Regions from separate parts of the Homo sapiens genome. Here region 1 is linked to region 2. Evidence: promoter capture Hi-C in 16 types of primary human blood cells and fetal thymus (Javierre and others, 2016). All regions are on one chromosome and are shown on one strand. The core of a region is centred on a gene start or on the middle of the fragment in contact, and the rest is flanking DNA. Distances in the headings are between cores, read along the strand shown. Region 1 holds the start of PEBP4 (phosphatidylethanolamine binding protein 4). Region 2 holds the start of PIWIL2 (piwi like RNA-mediated gene silencing 2).

Region 1 (7,478 bases), core at 691-3,190, 650 kb after region 2:
AGTGTTTGTGTCTCCTCAAAATTTATATGTTGGAATTTAATCCTCAATATGATGGTATTAACAAGCGGGACTTGGAAGAGGTGATTAAGTCACCCTTATAAAAGGCACCCTCATAAGAGAGGCTGAAGGGAGCTGCCCTTCCCTTCCCCCATGTGAAGTCGCAGCAAGAAGGTGCCATCTTTGAAGCAGAGAGCAACCTTGTACCGCACACTGAATCCACTAGCACCTTGATTTTGGCGCTTCTCAGCCTCCAGAGTTGTGAGTAATACATTCCTGCTGTTTAGAAATGACCTAGTCTAAGGTATTTTGTTATGGTAGCTGAACAGACTAAGACAGTGAGGATGACAAAAAGACACATGGGATATGAGGCTGCCTCGAAGAGGGGGCTCACTGTGAAAGTGTGGGTCACCCCACTTGAAAAACAGCAAGCCAGGTATGGCAGTGCATGCCTGTAATACCGGCACTTTGGGAGGCTGAGGCAGCAGGATTGCTTGAGCCCAGGAGTTTGAGAACAGCCTGGACTACATACCGAGACTCCCAACTCTACAAAAAATAAGAAACTTAGCCAGGTGTGGTGGCGTGCACCTGTAGTCCCAGCTACTCAGGACGTTGAGGCAGGAGGATTGCTTGAGCCCAGGTGTTCAAGGCTGCAGTGAGCTATGATCAGGCCACTGCACTCCAGCCTAAGTGACAGACAAGACTCTGTCTCTAAAAGAAATGTATTTAAACAGGAGAGACCAAGGCCCCTGAGAGAGGTTGAAGGACTGGGGATGACTGCCCAGGTTGGGGGGAGCTGGGGATGAAGGGGCAGGGCAGGGCATGGCACCTGTCACCACACACATGAATGACCACAAAGAAGATGAGAAACTAGACTAGTTTGTGCACCTCGTGGATCCGCACTACAACAGGTAGGGTTGGTGTTCAAGAAGAGCAGCAGGGCCTCGGGGTAAGAATGTACTTTCTGAAGAACGGAGCTTTTCAACACCAAAAAGCAGGACGCTTTGAGCAGCAGCTCCCATCCCTAGGGGAGCTTGCAGGGCTGACTGGATGGCAGCAGCAGGTGGGGTTTTTTGAGTGGATTCACCTCCTGGCTGCAGGTTTGGAGAATCATGGTTCTTTCCATTCTGCGACTGAGCCCAGGGTTGGGACCGTCGGTGGTTTTGCTGGTCTTGTCTGGGGTATCTCAGAAGCAGGGAAGGTCTGATTCCCGAGAAGCGTTACTCTTAACAATGTCTCACAGCTTGTCACAGTACATAAAATTCCTCCCTTATAGATTAATACCTTTAGGCATTGAGTCCAATCTTTAAGAGTTCCCTGGTAGACCAAATGCCCACAAGAGGAGTGCCTTCTCTGGGGGATCTCTTGCCAAGGTCAGAGCCTGAGCCGAGTGGGGATCTTGAGGAGGGGTCAGTGCAGGAGGTCCTGCTGTCTCCTCAGGGGTCCGATCTGTCCTTGATGCATTTTTCATTTCATCATCATTCATGATGCTCTCTTCCAAACAAAAATCTTCAGTGACAATAAAGACAAAGCTCCTCTTTTGCGATGATGGCTTGAAATCAAAAGACATCTTCCTGGCATGCAACCTTAAGGTCATAAGTCTCTTTCTCAGACTGGGGGCCTGCTGGTGTATTCTGGGAGTCCTGAGAATGGGCCCCCTTGACTCGAGTCTGGGAGCCCTGAACCTGGGGTGAAGGTTGTCAGAAGCAGATAGGGAAAGAGCGTGAGTGTGGAGTCAGACAAGGGGGCTAGATCTTGGCTCTGCTACTTTTAAGCTATGTAAACACTGTGGGCAGATTTCTTAATCTCTGGGGATTCTTCATCTGCAGAATGGGGGTGCTAACACAGACTTTGTAGGTTCGTTACTGACAGTGAAAGGAGTCAAGGAGTCCAGGCACCGGCAGAGCACCTGGCACACAGAAGGTGCCCTGGGACTTCCCACGTGTGTCCCCATGCATGGGTCACCAGGGCACCAACATGTGATCTTGGCAGGGCAGAGCCTAGGGCATCTGGAGCCTCAGGCTGGTCACCCCCAATGACCCTACAGACATCCTCATTTCCCACAGTGTGGGAAACACCAGGAACTGCTGAGGTCCTCCTTAAGGGGCCCTTATTGTGGCCCAGGCCTGCTGTACCCTGGCCCAGCTGACCTCTCCTGGTTACGGGGGTGTTGACCTTGCACTGCTCAGAGCGAGAAGCCTGCCAGCCCCTCAGCTCACTCAGCAGAGCACCTAGAAAATTAGATCCCACTTGTGAGAGGCAACCACGTTTCTCTTCCTCCTTCCACGTGAAAACTTCACCCAGAACTGTTTTCTTGCTTGTTTGTTTTTTTGTTTGTTTTTTGAGACAGAGTCTTGGTCTGTCGCCCAGGCTAGAGTGCAGTGGCGCAATCTCGGCTCACTGCAACCTCCACCTCCCAGATTCAAGGGATTCTCCTGCCTCAGCCTCCTGAGTAGCTGGGATTACAGGTGTGCGCCACCATGCCCGGCTAATTTTTTTTTATTTTTAGTAGAGACAGGGTTTCACCGTGTTGGTCAGGCTGGTCTCAAACTCCTGACCTTGTTATCTGCCTGCCTCAGTCTCCCAAAGTCTTGGGATTACAGGTGTGAGCCACCGTGCCCAGCCTACACCCAGAACTATTTAACAAGATTTTTCAAAATATACTGACACGAACAAAGTTTGTTACTTTTTGTTGTTGTTGTTGTTGTTGTTTAGGCAGGGTCTGGCTCTGTTGCCCAGGCTGGAATGCAGTGGCGCAATCATGGCTCAGACCAGCCTTGACCTCCTGGGTTTAAGCGATCCTCCCACCTCAACCTCTTGAGTAGCTGGGACGACAGGTGTGCATCAGCATGCTTGGCTAGTTTTTAAACTGTTTTGTAGAGAAAAGAGTCTCTCTATGTTGCCCAGGCTGGTCTCAAACCCCTGGGCTCAAGTGATCCTCCACCTTGGCCTCCCAAAGTGCTGGGATTACACATGTGAGCCACTTCACCCAACAAAAATGTTACTTTTTAAGAAGGATTCAACTACATAATTTTAAGAGAAGACATGTATTTATGGTTCTAAAAGTAATGTTTGTCAAAAATGTTTTAAATAAAATTAAAAAGAAAAACAAACATTTTCATGAACAGTAATGTTTGTGAAAATTCAAAGGTACAGAAGAGAGTAAGTAGTCAAAGTTCTTTTTCCTCCTCTCTCATTTCTCACACGTGGGCTCAGTGGGGTGTCCCCCTCCTCAGCCACCAAACTGGCAGGGAGGTTTGGCATCAGTTTGGCCTGGGGAGTCCTCAGGATGACCCACAAGTCCACACAAATGAAGGCTTGCTTTTCTAACCGGCAGAGTTGGTGAGGAGAGAGCCGAACGCCAGGCTTTCCAGCTTACCCAAAGTAGAAGCAGCTTGTGCCCTTGGAAGGGAAGAAGCCAGCCTCGTCACCCAACTCCATCCAGTGCCATGATCCCTAAAGGGCCCTGCACAAACGCTCCTGGGTCCTATCACTGACAAAAACCTCTCACACAGGAAGGGTCTAATCATACACCTTCTTTCATTCAAATGCCTCTTTGTTGGGGTTCTGGGGAGAGGGGGCATTCAGGCTGCAGGGAGGGATGGTCTCTCTCTGGGTCTCTCTCTGAGGGTCTCAGCCTCCTGCCCCCACAAAGACCCCCCAGGTTTGGAGGGCCCAAGCAGAGCCGACCACATACACAGCCCTCCTGGTCCTGGGAGAGGTGCATTCTGGAAGGCAGGAAGGAGTCTGTTTCTAAATCCCTTTCTCAGTGCCATCCTCCATCAAGGTGGTCTCCAGATCTGACACGTGTTCTGCCTTCCCATAAAATCAGGCTCAGGAGATGGTGCTTCTTGGTTCTGGATATACCCCTCCCTGCCATCTACCTGCCTGGTAGCCTCTGTGCCTCCCGCCTCCAAGCCTGCCCTGACTTACTGGCAAAAGAGGGTGTCCTCGTCCAAGAGGGCCTCATGGGCACACGGGCTGTTCTCATCCTCGTCTCCAGTGACCACCATCATGAGACCCAGTAACAGTGCTGCTGTGACCAGCCTCATTGTCCAACCCATGGGCACCTGGAACAGAAAGAACTTTAGAGCGGCTGGATCCCCTGCAGGGGCCTTCCTGCCCACTACCTGTGCCCCCGACCCCAGGGGCCCACTTGGCAGGATAGAGACCTCTGGTTAAGCACAGGGAGAAGGACAGGCAGCTTCCAGGGCTCCGCAGCTAATCCAGTCCACCACCCGGACACAAGTACTTTGGGAGGACTGGGCCTCTTCCAAGTTGGACTCAATGTACGTTCCTGGCAGAGGCCCCTCCCCTGGCAGGACACAGCTTTGTTGTCACTCTTGTCCTGGCTGCCAGGGCAGAGAGCAGGCTGCAAAGTAGAAGTGCTTATATAAGCTCCTCGGTGCAGCTCCTTGTCCAGTCCCTGCTGTTGGCCCAGGGATGGTCAGCTGGCCAAAGGCCAGCCTGCTCCTTGGCTGTAAGGCAAGCCCTGGGAAGCTGGTGACCCCAGGCTCAGGGCTAGGAGTTGGGCTGTGCCCCTCAGACCGGCTCTGACTCTCCTGGCCCCCATTCTTCCACCACCTGTCTCCACAGCCTGTGAGCTTCCCCAAGGTGGAGGTGGTTGGACACAGTGACCTTGTGTAGGAGGGACTGCTGCAGGGGGTGGGGGTAGGTGCACCCCAGACCGAGGCCAGCTCCGAAGGGCCAGCTCCGAAGGGCCAGCTGAGGACAGAAGGGTGCGTCTGGGTGCACCTTGCAGCTGTGCTGCACTCAGCACTCTCCCAAAATAATCGTATCTGGAGAAGGAGGTCTGGGGAGCTGCTTGGGGCTCAGAAAGGGGTGGCCTGCCCCAGCAGTGCACTGGGAGGAAGGGGAGCCGGGGACTGTCGCCTGCATTCCCTTGGGGAACAGTCCTGCCACCAGGTGCATGTGGGACTCTGGTTTGAGCCTGAGTGGGCAGGGAGAAGAATAAAGGCGGCTTGCAACAGGCTTTCCAATAGCTCTGCTCTCTGCTTCTCAGAGGCGGGGGTGGGAGAGACGTGCCAGCAACTCAGGACTCCTGGCTTCTGCTCTGAGCTCTCTCTGGATGCTGGGAGGCCACTGTGTCTCCCTAGAATGCACCACTTTTCCTTTTCACAAACAAGTAAAATAATTCCTGTCACCGTGGTGCCTTGCTAAGGAATATGAGATCATCGCTGTAAAGTACACGCAGCTAGACCTTTAGAGAAACTACTTTCAGCATAGTCTGCTTTCTGGCTCAATTCCTGCCTCCAGGATCCCAACCTGTAGCAAAAAGCCCCCCTTAGGGGCTACATATTAAACACATTTCTCAATCATTAGGTTCTCTGAAGTACAACCAGGACTCCCCCTTGCCCCAACCAGAAAACATATTCCCAAGATCTCCCCTAGTGGACAGAGTCTAATAGTAGCCTCCTCACAAGATCATTATGAGAATGAAATCAACCAGGTTAAGCCCTCAGTAAGGTGCCTGGCACATAGTAAATGCTCAATAATTTATGAATAGTCTAAGTATTCTCTCACGGATCCATCCATTCATTCATTCCTTTGCAACCCACTTCACTCATAGGCATTAAGCACCTCCCACGTGCCTGCCCCATGTTGGGCCCTGGGGTATAGGTTGAGCATGCAGCTCACAGGACAGCCACAGCCAAGGAGATGCTGCCAGAAGGGCTGCCCAAGACCAAGAAACTCATCTTCCAAATGGCATCCACTAGAGAAGTCTCAACTTTTCTGGGTGTCAACTCCTTTAGCACAGTGATGGCGGCCTGGAAGAAGGGAGAGCCCACAGTGCAGGTTGCTGCTGTTGAGCCCACTTCCAGTGGCGGTTCTTCCTTACTCCACGTGCCAGGCACTTTTATCTCCGAATCCTCATGCCAATCCTTGGAAATAGGCACTATTATCACCCCATCTTATGGAGGAGGAGACAGCACAGTGACATTAGTTAAAACCTGATCTTGGTCACCAAGAAGTGGCAGACCTGGAATTTGAACCCCAGGCTCTGGTTGAACCTGTGGAAACTGGGTTGAGTCCATTGAGTCCATGCTTTGTTTTGAGACAGGGTCTCACTCTCATCGCCCAGGCTGGAGTGCAATGGGGTGATGCTGGCTCCTGCAACCTCCGCCTTCTGGGCTTCAAGGGATTCTCCTGCCACAGCCTCTCAAGTAGCTGGGAGTACAGGCACACCACGGCTCTGGCTAATTTTTGTATTTTTTGTAGAGACGGGGTCTTGCATTGTTGCCCAGGCTGGTCTCGAACTCCTGGGCTCAAGTAATCCACCTGTGTGCTCCCAAAGTGCTGGGATTACAGGCGTGAGCCACCGCGCCCAGCCCAGAGTCCACGCTCTTAACCACCTGGCTCCACTGCACTCTGTAGCTGCTCCATTGCCTCTCACTCACTCCCTCTACATTCCCTTTGCTCTTGGGAGAAGGACCCAGAGTCCTTCACGTGGACCACAATACCCTGCGAGATCAGGCTTTTCCTGTCTCTCTAGCTGACTTCCTCTTCCTCTCACATGTTACCTCTGGCGGGTTCCTCAAGCTCCTTTCTATGCCAGGGCTGTGATAGGCACTGACCCTGCTTCCCACCTTCATTAGGGGGGTAGCTGAAATGTCGTTTCCTAAGAGAAACTTGCTCTTTCCCCTAGGGTCCATCAGATTCCTGTTATAAACAATTAGAGCACTTTACTGCTTTCTTCATTATTCTCATATAGTTGTAATAAATTATTTTATAGTTATTTGCTTAGTGATAGTATCTCCTCATCCCCCCAGCCTATAAGCTTCTCGGAGGCAGCACGGAGACTGTCCAGCATTCTGAGCATCTTACATGGAGTATATAGAAGCTTAATAAAATTCTTGTTTAAGTGCATGACACACGCCACTTCCGTTTCTGATCATCCTCATTTTCACTTAACAGGTCTTAACTCTGTACAAACATCAGTAGGAAACTAATCACTCAGGTTGGCCCTTAGCCCTGGATGCCTTTTGCTTATTTATCTAACCTTCTCTGGCTTGTTTTTGTGCAGAGAGATCTGGCAGAATGCAGTGGTTCTCGGGATTTTTCAAACCTGATCTTTCTCTTGGGGATTTTCAGGACTTTGATTCATACTTGAAACCTAAGATCTGAAAGCCGTGTTCAAGCTTGCGGAGTGACAATTCTCCCTCCCCATCACCACCCCGGCTCCTGGAAAGTCCCATTGCTAGATTTCTTGGTGCCCACCCTTGAAGTCCCCCTCTCTTCCTTCAGTTACCTGGGCTGGGACCACCTCCAGACACCACCATTCAAGCCAAACCTGTGGCTTCCTGAGACACATTGGTCCCTCCAGCTACTGGGATCTGTTGGACCACTGCTGCTGAAACTCTTCACTCCCTTCTTATCCCTCCAGGCCTCCTGTGCCTGACACCCTCCAATCACTGCCTAGGCCTCACTTCATTTCTCTACCCAGACACAGACTCTTGTTA
Region 2 (7,651 bases), core at 3,467-5,966:
AGTTTACATTCTGTCTCTATAGATTTATGTTTTCTAGACATTTCACATAAATGGAATCATACAATATGTGGTCTCTTATGTCTGGTTTCTTTCATTTAACATATTTTTTGGGGTTCATCCATGCCATAGCAGTTTGTTCCTTCTTATTGATGAATCCATCCATTGTGTGAATATATACCACATCTTTATTCCTTTTTTTTTTTTTTTTTTTTTTGAGACAGAGTTTTGCTCTTGTTGCCCAGGCTGGAGTGCAGTGGCGCGATCTTGGCTCACTGCAACCTCTGCCCCCTGGGTTCAAGCGATTCTCCTAGCTCAGCCTCCTGAGTAGCTGGGATTACAGGCGCCTGCCACCACACCCAGCTAATTTTTTGTATTTTTAGTAGAGATGGGTTTTCATCATGTTGGCCAGGCTGCTTTCGAACTCCTGACCTCAGGCGATCCACCCGCCTTGGCCTCCCAAAGTGCAGGGATTACAGGCATGAGCCACCGCACCCGGCCGGGATTACAGGCATGAGCCACCGTGCCCGGCCTCCTTTTTTTTTTTAACGCATCCCCATTGTTAAGCATACAAATTTCTGTTTATTCATTTACCAGTTGATGGACATTTAGGTGAAGTTTTTGGCAATTATCAATAATGCTGCTATGAACATTTGCATGCAAGTTTTGTGTGGACATGTTTTCATTTTTCTTAGGTAGCTACCAAGAAGTGAAATTTTGGTTCCTACAGTAATTTTTTTCTTAACTTTTTGAGAAACTGCCAAATGTTTCCCAAAGAGGCTGCATCATTTTACATTCCCACTGGCAATGTCTGAGGGTTCCTGTTCCACCACATCCTTGCTGACTTCTGTTATTCTATTAGTCAGACAGGCCTGCCATAACAAATTGCCACAGACTGGGTGGCCTCAGCAACACACATTTGTTTTCTCACAGCTCTGGAGACTATGATTCTATGATCAAGGTGCTGGCAAATTTGATTTCTGGTGAGTACCATCTCCCTAGTTTATAGATGGCCGCCATCTTGCTGTGTCCTCACATGGCCTTGTCTCTGTGCTTCCATGAAGAGAGAGGGATAGAGATAGAGAAAGATCTCATGTCTTTCTCTTCTGATAAGGACACAAATCCTATCAGATTAGAGCTCCTCCTTACCTCATTTATGTTAATTATCTCCCTACATACTTTATCTCCAAATACAGGGGATTAGGGCTTCAACATAGGTTTTGCAAGGAGGACACAATTCACTCCCTAACATTCCTCCCTCTGTCCCCCGCAAATTCATGTTCTTCTCACATGCAACACATTCGCCCCATCCTAACAGCCCCCAAAGTCTTACACCGTTTCAGTATCAATTGCAAGTCTAAGATCTCATCTAAATACAATAGGCCCTCCCTATCCACGGGTTCTGCATCCATGGATTAAACCAACCACAAATCAAAAATATTTGGAAAAAACAAAAAGGATGGCTGCATCAGTACTGAACAGGTGCAGACTTTTTTCTTGTAATTATTCCCTAAACAATACAGTGTAACAACTATTTATGTAGCATTTACACTGTATTTGGTATTATAATTCATCTAGAGACAATTTAAAGTATACAGGGAAATGTGCATAGGTTATATGCAAATATAAAATACACCATTTTATATAAGAGACTTGAGCATCTGTGAATTTTGGTATCCATGGAGGGAGGTCCTAAAAACCAATACTCTGCAGATACTGAAGGACAAATTCCATTAAATTTTACGGCTCCAGTCAGGGGTGGTGGCTCACACCCATAAGCCACTGAGTTCAAGACCAGCCTGGGCAATATGGTGAAACCCTGTCTCTACTAAAGGGCTTATTAGTTCCAACAAGAGCTGGTTGTTAAAAAGAACCTAGCGCTTCCCTCCCCTCTCTTGCTTCCTCTCTCTCCATGTAATCTCTGCACAGGCCGGGTCTCTTTGCCTTCTGCCATGAGTGGAAGCACCCTGAGGTCCTCACCAGGTGTCCAGTCTTGAACCTTCCAGCCAGCATAACCATGAGCTCGATAAACCTCTTTTCTTTATAAATTACCCAGCCTCAGGTATTCCTTTATAGTAACACTAAAGGGACTAATGGACTGACACAGGTCCACTCACATCTTTTGGCCCCCCCCCCTTTTTTTTTGAGAGAGAGTTTTGCACTTGTTGCCCAGGCTGGAGTGCAGTGGCGTGATCTCAGCTCACTGTAACCTCCGCCTCCCGGGTTCAAGTGATTCTCCTGCCTCAGCCTCACGAGTAGCTGGGATTACAGGCACCACACCAACATGCCTGGCTAATTTTTATGTTTTTAGTAGAGACAGCATTTCACCATGTTGGCCAGGCTGGTCTCGAACTCCTGACCTCAGGCCATCTGCCCACATTGGCCTCCTAAAGTGCTGGGATTACAGATGTGAGCCACCATACCTTTTGCCCATTTTTTTATTAGATTGTGTGTCCTCCTGTTATTCGGCCTGATGTGTTTCGTGAGCTCATATTTATTCATACCTTTTACGTGGGAGTTTTGGGAGCCTGGTGTATTTCTCCTGAAAGGATTTCTAGTTATCTCTGCCAGGAACCCAGACATACTACATAGGTCTACTTTAAATGAAATCCTTCCTATAGGTTTTAGGCCCCACCAGTAATGTAATTTTCTGCCCTTAATCTTGCTGTGGCTCTGGGGATCTTATTTTCTGAACAGCAGCAACAACAACAACAACAAACCAGAATACATGGTTGGAATAGAAATATTTATGGTGACCAAGTGCCCAGGGTATTTGGAGTCATGACTGCCTAGGAAAATTCAGGTTATGTATAGTTATGGGGCCATTTTCACTCTGAATTTTAGAGACTGGCAGGGCCAGGTGGACAGAATTTGGTGTTACGACTTTTTTGAGTTAAAAAAAAAATCTGTGATTTATCTCAAAATACTATCTCTTAGTGTGATATACGTGCTCTTTTTGCCCCTTTCATTTTTAATTAACAAATAGCAATTACATATGGTTATGTGGTACAGTATGATATTCTGATATTTATTTACATTGTGGAATGATTAAACCAAATTAACATATCCATCACCTCACATACTCATCTTTTTGTGATGAGATTATGTGTGTCCTTTTTAATCAATATCCTAGGGATGGCTAATTAACAATTAAAGTACTCTGTTAGGGAATATAATCTCCAAAAGAGGTTGATTAGCTTTTGAAAGGTCCTAAATAGATGTCCACGTTTCAGAAAGCTTCAACCATTTTTATGTCCAATCAACAGCAGGACTATATGGATTTTCCTTTGGTTAAATAAGTAGTGTTAATGATGTCTGGATTAGCTAGAAATACTGTACGAAGGCCACCTACACTTGCATGGATGGACAGGATATAGAAATCTAGGAAACCCAATGTGCATACCCTTTGTAATGGTGCTCTTGGTTTAGGTTCCCAAATAGAAGACATACTCAGGAAATTATCTGAGGATTATTATTCCCTTACTTCAACTAGAAGATTTGCTGAATCCTGCCCCCAAAATATTGTTTCATGTGTATAGAATAAGTGTGTCATGCAAAGTTTGGTCGGAGTTCCTAAAAGAACAAGGAGTTGGATCTTCACGAAAGTTACAAAACAGTTTGTATAACTGTTTTTGACTGCACTTGCTACCATTAAGTATTTGCACAGGCAGGAGAATTGCTTACAACATAACATTGCAACAGCTGCAAGTTAAGAAGGTTGTGTGGTAAAGGAAGTGAAAATGTTAGATCATGGTAAACAAATACTATCTAGGAACAGTGAAGGGGCATCGTGCCAACTGGATTCCTGAGTTGAAAATCATCCTGCTCCAATAATTTTCAGACTATCCTCATTCGGGAAGGATAGGGAGGGCCCTTGTATGTGTGGATTAAAATAAGTCATGGGATATCTGAGGCCTGGAAAAAATAAGGTTAACCCTTCTCTAGTCCTATTCCATGCAGAGCCCTTGGATGTCTCTATAGCATCCGCCAAAGCCTTCAGAAGCTTTACCTCAACCACACTGTAAAACCTGGGTGTGGGAGAGGGATGCAGTTATTTGACAAAATGGTTGGGAGAGGGTCAGAAATCTTTCTTTGGGTAAAATCATTCTGTAGTTGCTGAAGTAACCACTGATAATTTAATCTGCTTCCTAGAAAGCTCTTCTTGGCTCACAGATTTAGGCATCAATAAAAATAGGCAACATTTATCGAGGGTCGTCTTCTCCTTGTGCTAAGTATTTTACATACGTTATGTCATTATGTGTGTACATTTCCATTCAACCCTATGAATGGATGTTTTTAGTTTTTATCTCTGTTTTATGTATAACGAAAGTGATGTGCAGAAATCATATGAATTAGGTGTTTGAATGCGCACTCGAGCTTACCGTTTCTTTTTCACCACCTGTATCGCTAATCCTCTTAACTGGCAGGAATGGGGCAAGTCAATTTCAACACGCGAGTCTTAGGCTAAATCTGTTTATAGGAGTTGCCCCCAGAAAGGGAGTCAGGATCTCCAAACCCTAACACATTTTAACGCTGAGGTTCACATAACTCCCAGCGCTCCTTCCGCACGAACCGCCCCTGCACAGGGAACCTGCTGGAAAGGACGAGCCTCTCTTGCAGATGGGCCAATTAGATAGCTTGCTCTTGTGAACGACAGGTCTTGTGGCCAATGGGCTCATCCCCGGAGGCCTCGAAGAGCGGAAATTGGCCCTGGAGCATGTGGGCCCCGGGGCGTGGGTTGAGCTCGGTCTTCCCCTGAGGCCGCGCGGAGCTGGGCGACTGGGGCGAGGACTCGCGCACAGGTGAGTACTGGCCCCGGTTGCGGCATGCCAGGCAGGCCAGGGTCGCTCGGGGGCGGGCAGGTTGGGTTTTTGCTCAAGCACGTGGGGTGAGCCGCCCTCCCGGGCCTCTCCCCTCCCACTTCGGGGAGCTGCTGAGGGTTGCGGGTCGGGCGGGGGCGGGAAGTCGTTATTCGAGGCCCGGCGCCGCGGCCCCAAGAAGGTGTCCAGGTTGGGGCGGCAGGGGAGGCCCTCCGGAGGCCCAAGTGGACGTCTTATTTGGCCTGAGAGAGGAGATAGAACCCCTGGCAGGGCTGTGGCTTTGGGGAAAGGTGCTTTTCTCGGGGTGGAAAGGGGATGGGACTCGCCTTCGGGGGCCTTGCTTCTGGTTAGGCCCGAGTCGCGAGGCCTCAGCGCGGAGCACGCACCCAGGGATGCGAGGGAGGCAGGCCCAGCCCGTCCTGGGTTCGCTCCCCATTGAACCTTTCGGACAGCCAAGTATCTGCTACCTGATCCCAGGGGGAAACCCACACTGGGAGAGGGCCCTCTGGGGGAGCTACCTGAATCTATAGAAGTGGTGCTGGAGGTTGAGGGAAGCGTGGACAAAGAGGAAGATTCCAGATGTCCCTTAAGGGAGGCCGTCCAGCGCTTCTGAGTATGTAGCTGTTAGCATACTGATTGCTTGGGATTCTTTGGGTGGTGTTGGGGAGGTGTGAGCAGAGTCCTGGCTCACCGAAAAGGGGTGTTAGCAGTTAAATATAGCCTTCAAGAAAGGGAGTCATATCCTGCGTTTAGAGTGTGAAAGAGGATAGTTTAGTTCAATAAATTTTGCAAGTTCCTGAACTGTCTGCACTTACGCTGTGGGTTTATGAATTGTGTGTTAATATTTTCTTTAAATGTATGATTTCTCTGTAGCTAATACTTAAGACAGCTTTTTTGTTTGTTTGTTTGTTTGTTTTGAGACGGAGTCTCGCTCCGTAGCGCAGGCTGGAGTGCAGTGGCGTGATCTCTGCTCACTGCAACCTCCGCCTCCCAGGTTCAAGCGATTCTCCTGCCTCTGCCTCCCGAGTAGCTGGGATTACAGGCGCAGGCCACCATGCCCAGCTAATTTTTGTATTTTTAGTAGAGATGAGGGTTCACCATTTTGGTCAGGCTGGTCTCGAACCCCTGACCTTGTGATCTGCCCACCTTGGCCTTCCAGAGTGCTGGGATTACAGGCGCGAGCCACCACCCCCGGCCAAGACAGCTTTTTGAAAGTTAAGAAGAGGCTTCTCCCAGCATTTGGGGAGTCTGAGGTGAGAGGATCACTTGAGGTCAGCAGTTTGAGACCAGCCTGGGCAACATGGCAAGATCCCGTCTCTACAAATTTTTTTTAAAAATTAGCTGGGTATGGTGGCAGGTGCCTGAAGTCCTAGCTACTTGGGAGGCTGAGACAAGAGGACTGCTTGAGCACAGGAGGTTGAGACTGCAGTGAGCTAAGATGCCACCACTTCACTGTAGCCTGGATGACAGAACAAGACCCTGTCTCTTAAAAAAAAAAAATTCTTTTCCGTTAAGAAATATTTTTCAGGAATCAGGGGCAAGTCAGGACAATGAGAGGAGCCCCTTAAAGAGGGAGTCTTGAAATCTGTAGGTTATAAAGTGATATATATATATATATTTTTTTTTTTGAGACAGAATCTTGTGCTGTCACCCAGGCTGGAGTGCCACGATCTTGACTCACTGCAACCTCCGCCTCCTGGGTTCAAGCAATTCTTGTGCCTCAGACTCCTGAGGAGGGGGGATTACAGGCATGCACCACCATGCCTGGCTAATTTTTGTATTTTTAGTAAAGACAGGGTTTCATCATGTTTGCCACGCTGCTCTTGAGCTCCTGATCTCAAGTGATCCACCCGCCTCGGCCTCCCAAAGTGCTGTGATTACAGGCATGGGCCACCATGCCCGACCTACAGGTTATGAAGTGATTTTGAAGAGACCTGATGGGCTTTAGATTTGGTAGGGAAGCCAGGGAGAGCCTCACCCCGGGTAACCTGGGAGAGAGAAGGGTGTTAAATGCAACCTGTGAGACTGAGCAAGTATTGTAGGCTCAAAGCAGAAAGACTGTGTACTCTGGAGACTTCTGATGGAGTTTGAAAGAAGAGAGTTTTTAAAATTTTTTTTTCTATTTTTTAATTATTTGTAGAGACAGGGTCTCGTTGTGTTCCTAAGACTGGCCTCAAACTCCTGGCCTCAATGGTCCTCCCACCTGGGCCTCCCAGAGTGCTGGGATTACAGGCATGAACCACTGTGTGTGTGTGCTCAGCCTGAAGGAAGAATTTTGTAAAAAAGAATTGGATAGAGATTCGGAGAAGCAGCTAAACAGATCAAGGAAGAGAATTTGGTGCAATCATAGACTGGAAAAAAGTTAGGACTCTTATGTAGGAAAGAGAGGCCAAAAACAAAGCAAAAACCCATAAATATTTGTTGACAATAATTTTATGATATGGCTGTGTTAACTATGAAATTGTTTATAGGCCAGGCACAGTGGCTCACACCTGTAATCCCAGCACTTTGGGAGGCCCAGGTGGGCTGATCGCCTGAGGTCGGGAGTTCGAGACCAGCCTGACCAACATAGAGAAACCCCGTCTCTATTAAAAATACAAAATTAGCCGAGCATGGTGCTGCATGCCTGTAATCCCAGCTACTCGGGACGCTGAGGCAGGAGAATCACTTGAACCCAGGAGGCAGAGGTTGCGGTGAGCCAAGATTGCACCATTGCACTCCAGCCTTGGCAATAAGAGTGAAACTCCGTCTAAAAAAAAAAGGGGGGGAGGAAAAGAAATTGTTTATAAACCAAAGTCATCCTCATACATAAAAACTGCCTTAGCCAGGTGCAG

The links. Contacts are between HindIII fragments. The CHiCAGO score rates a contact against its expected background, and 5 or more counts as called.
Region 1: a contact is called between a fragment that was not itself captured here and the fragment with the promoter of PIWIL2 in region 2, in 1 of 17 cell types (naive CD4 T cells). The highest score is 5.6, in naive CD4 T cells.

What each region holds. Positions count from the first base shown.
Region 1 is chr8:22,923,654-22,931,131 of GRCh38, forward strand. It overlaps PEBP4 (phosphatidylethanolamine binding protein 4), which reads right to left and starts at 4,261. Exons shown (of 7, transcript NM_144962.3): 1 at 4,170-4,261; 2 at 3,931-4,067. The coding sequence starts at 4,061. The HindIII fragment of the contact is 9,707 bases long and covers 1-6,794 here.
Region 2 is chr8:22,270,600-22,278,250 of GRCh38, forward strand. It overlaps PIWIL2 (piwi like RNA-mediated gene silencing 2), which reads left to right and starts at 4,717. Exons shown (of 23, transcript NM_018068.5): 1 at 4,717-4,799. PIWIL2-DT (PIWIL2 divergent transcript) reads right to left here and starts at 4,563. Exons shown (of 2, transcript NR_134293.1): 1 at 4,380-4,563. RefSeq lists enhancers at 1-30, 4,997-5,642. The HindIII fragment of the contact is 4,124 bases long and covers 3,999-7,651 here.